Linked DNA regions of Homo sapiens: region 1 is linked to region 2. Evidence: promoter capture Hi-C in 16 types of primary human blood cells and fetal thymus (Javierre and others, 2016). All regions are on one chromosome and are shown on one strand. Each heading gives the region's core, a stretch centred on a gene start or on the middle of the fragment in contact. The rest is flanking DNA. Distances are from core to core; before and after follow the strand shown. Region 1 overlaps LOC105370050 (a long non-coding RNA gene). Region 2 holds the start of NCOR2 (nuclear receptor corepressor 2).

Region 1 (3,010 bases), core at 116-2,615, 300 kb after region 2:
TGAGTGCTCCGAGGGAGGCTTTCTAAACCTCTTATTTAACTCCAGAAGAAAGCAGCCTTCTCGCAGGGCCATCCTTAAGCAACATGTCTTCGCCTGAACCAATATTTACAGAGCACCTGCTATGTTCTCGTTAGACAGCTTTGCCTGGCACTGCCTTCCTCTAAGGAGGCCGAATATGGTCCAGTGCCCCAAGGGGCAGGGCCCAACTCCTGAGGGAGGTCAGAGTGGCTGAGGTGAGACTGTGGTAGCCCCGGGGGACAGGTTCAGAGAAATCCAGGCTCTGGGGTTTCCCACATTGGAGTCCTGGGGCAAGTGGTTTGGGCCTTTCTGTGCCTCAGTCTCCTCATCTACGAAACGGGGATTAGAAGAGCCCCTTTCCAAGGGCTACCATGAGGATTAAACAAGTCAAAAAATGTGCCAGTGCTTAGAACAGTCCCTGGAATGTGTCAGTGCAACTGAGCTGGGGAGTGTCGTCGTTATTTTCCGGACCCACATGAACTGGCGCCTGCCCATCTCTCTGCCTCCATCTCCTGCCCTCTCCCCCATTGTTTCAGTTCATTGAGCATCCCCAGCTTTTTCTTGTGTCAGGAACTTTGCACTTCCTGTTCCTCTGTCTAGGATACGCTTCCCCTAGATCCTTCCATGGCTCCCCACTCTCCTCTTCTGGGCTCAGCTGAAACCCACTCCTCAGAGAAGCCTTTGCTGTTGCATCTGTTGAAAACAGGAGTCCCAGCCCACTCTGTCAGGCCACCTTGCTTTGTGTGAAATGGTCTTATCTGTTTCCTTGTTCATCTCCTCCAGCTCCCGAGAGACAGAAGCTGACCCTGTTTTGCTTATCGATGTATCTCCAGCACCTGGAAAAATGCCTGGCACATAGCAGGTACTCAATAAATACTTTACTCAATCAGCTAATTAACTCATTAATTAATCAAGTAACTGATCGATTGATTAATTAATTAATATCACTTCATTGAATTCCTTAAGGCCTTCAACAGCCTTCAGCTATGCAGTTGCCTTTTTTTTTAATGACTTTTGTAGTTCTCGGAAATTAGCCAGTTAACTAAAATCTGCGGTCTGCCTGGCCCTGACACCCTCCTCCACTTCCTTGATACTGACCTGCCTTGACCATCTCACCCAATCTAACTCTGATTCATGACCAAGTCTTCAAGGTCCAAATGTACGTGATGCTTACCCAAGAGGGCTGCAAGGCCATGGCTGGAGAGCCCTCATGTCACGCCATGCTGTCACTCGAGAGAGAAGGGCAGAGATGAAAGGGTGATGGGACACGTGAGCCACCTTGGCCTTGCTGAGGGGAGTCACTTCCGGTGGCAGGGAGGGCAGCTTAAGAAGGGAAAAAAAGACTTCGTCATGTTTGAGAGAGAGGTCTTGCCCTGGGGAAAGTCGAAGATACAGAAGAAAAGAAAGAGTGCTGATAACAAAATATGATCAACATGGTGTCACAGGGCTCCTGGAAAATCAAGTCAGATGCTTTTCCTCCTCTGCTCAGAGTCCTTTCGTGATCAAAGACGGAGAATGACTGCAGGCAAAGACCTGGAGGAGTTGGAAGCCTCTTGAGGTGCTTGTGGGATTGTAAAATGGTGCAGCCTCAAAAGGTAAACATAGGGGTCCCCTAAGACCCAGCAGTTCCACTCCTGGGTATATGCCCAGGAGAAAGGAAAGAGCATGTCCACACGGAAGCCTGGACACAAATGTTCACAGCAGCCAAGCAGTGAAAATAACCCACACCCCCATCAGCTGGTGAATAGGTAAATAAAATGTGGCATAACCACGCACTGGAATATGACTCAGCATAAAAAGGAATGAAGGGCTGACGCGTGCTACACCATGGATGAACCTTGAAAACATTGATAAGTGAAAGAAGCCAGACACAAAGGCCACATGTATGATTCTGCTTATATAAAATGTCCATAGTAGGCACATCTATGGGGACAAAAAGTAGACCAGTGGTTGCCAGGGGCTGGGGAGAATGAGGAGTGACTGCTACAGGTTTGGGGTTTCATCTTGGAGTGGTGAAAATGTTCTAAAAGTGACGGTAAAAGTGATGGTAATGATGGTTGCACAACTCCGTGAATATACAAAAAACCATCAAATTACACACTTTATTTACTTTTTCTTTTTTTCAAGAGACAGGGTCTCACTCTGTCACCCAGGCTGGAGTGCAGTCTTGAAGTCTTGGGTTCAAACCATCCTCCCGCCTCGGCCTCCTGACTAGCTTGGACAACAAGTATATGCCACTATGTACACCTGATGTTTTCATTTTTGTTGAGACAGGGTCTCACTTTGTTGCCCAGGCTGCTCTCAAAATTCTGGTCATCCTCCCACCCTGGCCTCCCAAAGCGCTGGGATTACAAGTGTGAGCCATCATGCCTGGCCAAATTATATACTTTAAATGGGTGAATGTATGATATGCAAATTATATCTCAATGAAAACTGTTATTTTAAAGAAATGGCCAGGCATGGTGGCCCATGCCTATAATCCCAGTGCTTTTGGAGGCTGAGGCAGGAGGATCCCTTGAGGCCAGGAGTTCGAGATCAGCCTGGGCAACACAGCCAGACACCATCTCTACAAAAAATAAAAAGTTAGCCAGGTAAAGTGGCACACACCTCTAGTTTCAGCTACTGAGGAGGCTGAGGTGGGAGAATCACGTGAGCCCAGGAAGTCGAGGCTGCAGTGAGTGAGCTGTGATTGTGTCACTGCACTCCAGCCTGGGCAACACAGTGAGACCCTGTCTCTCAAGAAAACAAAAAGAAAGAAACCTTTCCGTGGCTCCCACCTCATTCAGCATAAAAGCCAAAGCCCTCACCATGGCCCACAAGATCACCACATCTCATACTAGAGAGACAAAGTCAAAACGCACCCAGATGGGCACATCTCCCTGACCTCATCCCCCTCCCTCTCCTTGCCCACTCTGCTCCAGCCACATCCTCCTCCCTGGAGCTCCTCCACCTGTTGCCCGGCTCGTGCCCCAGAACCTTTGCACTCCCTGGT
Region 2 (3,133 bases), core at 323-2,822:
CAAAGTCAAGGCCACCGGTAACACATCCCAACGCGCCCAGAACTCCCCCACCCCGCCCACAGGGTCCTCCCCTTATCCCCTCCTCCCCTCTTCCCTCCCTCACACATCCTTCCTCCAAATCTGCAAAAAGGGAAAAATAATAATAATCACAATAAAACCAGTTCTCACCAACGGGGGAGAGGAGGAGGGGGAGGAAGGGAGGAGGCTGAGCCGACAGAACAGATCCGCCCCCGCTGCCTGCACCAGACCCTCGGAGAGCCGGAGCGCGCGACAGGCGGCGGGAGGACACTCGCTTCCAAAAAAATAAACCTACAATGTAAAAATAACGCCGGGCGCCCCACGCTAATTGGGCCCGGGCGACAGCAGCTCCCAGGTACAGCCTGTCTCTCCCTCCCGCCCGCCGTGCCCTCCCGCCCTCGGCTTGCTCCTCCTGCAAGTGTCTGGGGCGGGGAGGGCGTACCCCACGGGTGCCCTCACTCCCCGCAGGCCTCTGAGGAAGCTGCCCTCTAGACAAGGGTCTGGGTCTTCCCAGTCGTGCCCAAGTGGGATCAGCTCTGAATTCCAACTTCGCAAAGTAGTGGCATCCCAAGTATCCGCACAGCCCGGGGGAGGGACTAGGAGGCGGCCCAATGAGGCGTCACCAGCCACGGGAGGCAGGCCCAGACACCAGGAACACCGGCCCGCGGGGGAGGGGGACCAGGGGCGACTCTCCCGAGGGACCCCGCCCAGCGCCCCGTGGCCCCACGCCTAGGAGGGACAAGGCTGGCTCTCCCCCTCGGCTGGTGAGAGACCCTCATGCGCCCCTCCACAACAGCCAGGCCAGGGAGCTAGGGGTACCATCTCCAAGGGCTTTCAAACCCGCGCTGCCCGATGGAAAATAAGGCGCAGTGTCGCCCCGCCAGGTCCGGGGCTACACCGGGTACAAGGGACGCCTGGCGGCCAAGTCCCCAGAGCCGGCGCACACTGTGGGGGGCCGCTCTGTGCATTTCCAGCGCGCCCCCCGCCCACCCCAACGCCACTTCCCTCCTTCCCGCCCCCTCGCTAGGGAGCTGGAGTTCCCCTAAGTTCCCCGGCGCCCCCGAGCACGCGGGCCGCAGTGTCGGCGGGGCGCCTTGCTCCCCAGCAGGCCACCCCCCGAGAGCGCCAACTCGGGAGTGCAGGGGCCCCGCCAACTCCGCCGCGTGCGCCGCCCGATCCTCCCCGGATCCCCCGGAAGCGCGCTCCGCGCCTCCCCCCGCCCTTCGCGGGGACCCTCGGCCCCAACTCACCTCGCGGAGGTGGCAGCGGTGGCGCCCGGGCTTGGGGCGCGCTCGGGCCGCCGGGGCGCTCAGGCAAGTGGCGGTGCCGATCGGGCTGGGGGCGCGCAGCAGGCCCGGCCTCGGGTCGGGACGCGATCCTCCCGCCGCCGCCTCCTAGGGCGCCGGCCCTGGGTCCCCGGCCCGCAAGTTGGCGCGCATCGCGGAGCGCAGGGCGCGGGCGCAGGGCTCGGGCGGGGCGCCGGCGGACGCGGGGCTCCGGTGCGGCCCGGCCTGCCCGCGGCTCCGCGCTCCCCGGCGGCCGCGGCGGCGGTGGCGGCGGCGGCGGCGGCGGCGGCGGCGGGAGGGGGAGGAGGGGGCGGGGCGCGAGCCCGGGAGGCGGTGGCTCGGCCTCCCTGCTCCCGGCTCCCCGCCCGCAGCGACGCGCCCCGGCCCGGCCCCCTCTGGCTCCTTAAAGGGCCCGCGCCTTCTCTCCAGGCCCTGCGCGTCCCCACTCGCGCGCGCACGCCGCCACACACACAGACACGCACGCACACACTTGGGCGCGACGCCGAGTTTCTTTTTGGCAGCTCCCCGAGGAGGAAGGAGGGGGGAAGCGCCTCCCAGCCTTCCCCTCCCTCTTCTCCTGCGGGCCCGGGGGCCCTCCTCCTCCTCTCCAGCCCCAGTACCTCACTGGAATCGCGTTTCAGCTATTAAATTATAACTCTGGAGTGGCCGCTGGATGGGGAGGGGGCGCGCAGGGAGGGCCCTACACAGGGCCTTTTAGGAGCACGCCCAGTGGGGCACTTGGGGACGGGAGCAGACAGTAGCGCAGAGCCCTCTCCAGGCAGGAACACGCTGGGCCTCCCCAGACCCGAGACCCAGCCCGGGCGAACACACTGCAGACTCACCACCCACCACGGACCGGAGATGTCAGATCTCACACAGACAAATACTGGGACACCCACGCGAGTTCACAGCACCCCGGAGGACACAGACGCTAGAATGCCAGTTTCCTGAGGGCAGAGATTTCTATTTTGTTCACTGCCCTATCGCAGTAGGGACTCACGAATGTGTTGAGTGAAGTCCCACTTGGGGACATTCAGGGACACAAATGCGGAGACAATGCAACGAGCCTGTGTCCCCCCCGCCCCCCCCACACACACACACAGACACACACATCCCAAAGCGTGACCCTGGGAGCCACACACGCCCGGCCTGCACAAGCACGCAGTCACAGACGGCACACATGTGCTCGCTCCCCCACGCACAGGCAGACACTCTCCGCTCCAGCAGGAACCTGGCCCCCCTGGCCGCCCTGACAACCCAGTGTCCTCATTTACCCCCTCCTCCCACCCCCTCCAGGTTTGCCCTCTCCAACCAGGGCAGATCTCTTTGAACAGCAGAGGGCACTGGGAGCCCTGGGCCTGGAGCCTCCCTCCCTCCCTCCTCTTCTGCTTTCTCCTAAGATGTTGGAGAGTTTGAATTTTTTTTTTTTTTTTCAGTTCAACTTTCCTTTTTTGGAGTGACGTCTCAGCAGATTCAGTTCTGCCATCTGGCAACATCTGAGAACCCCCAGGGAGAGCGGGGAATGGCTGCGGTGGGGAGGCAGCCGCGTGGTTTCCAGAGGCCGGCGGGCCTCCCGCCTCCGCCAGGATGCTGGGTTTGCCGGGCTCCCCTGCAGCCAGGTCCTTCTCTGCCCCCTCGGGCTTTTAATTATGAGCTTTTGGGGGGCTGGCGGGAGCCTCTGGGGCTGACAATGTCTGGCAAAAGGGAAGTGGGTGTGGAGGGGAGCAGTTTGCAGACTGAAACAGGAGGGGTCATAGGTCAGTGCCCCCCCCCCACCTCCTTGTTTTGGCCCGACCAGCTCCAGTTCTGCCCAGCCAGTCGGTCCGAAT

Evidence for each region. The method cuts DNA at HindIII sites, captures the fragments that hold promoters and counts their contacts. A CHiCAGO score of 5 or more calls a contact.
Region 1: a contact is called between a fragment that was not itself captured here and the fragment with the promoter of NCOR2 in region 2, in 1 of 17 cell types (monocytes). The highest score is 9.7, in monocytes.

Annotation. Positions count from the first base shown.
Region 1 is chr12:124,865,797-124,868,806 of GRCh38, forward strand. It overlaps LOC105370050 (a long non-coding RNA gene), which reads left to right. Exons shown (of 3, transcript XR_945488.3): 2 at 802-880. Among named protein-coding and RNA genes, the nearest start is that of SCARB1, 3.4 kb to the left of the region's middle. RefSeq lists enhancers at 103-272, 701-1,900. The HindIII fragment of the contact is 4,035 bases long and covers 1-3,010 here.
Region 2 is chr12:124,566,040-124,569,172 of GRCh38, forward strand. NCOR2 (nuclear receptor corepressor 2) reads right to left here and starts at 1,573. Exons shown (of 49, transcript NM_006312.6): 1 at 1,269-1,573. RefSeq lists silencers at 319-418, 619-838, 979-1,088, 1,109-1,468, 1,579-1,828 and enhancers at 1,949-1,998, 2,165-3,025, 3,026-3,133. The HindIII fragment of the contact is 7,570 bases long and covers 1-3,133 here.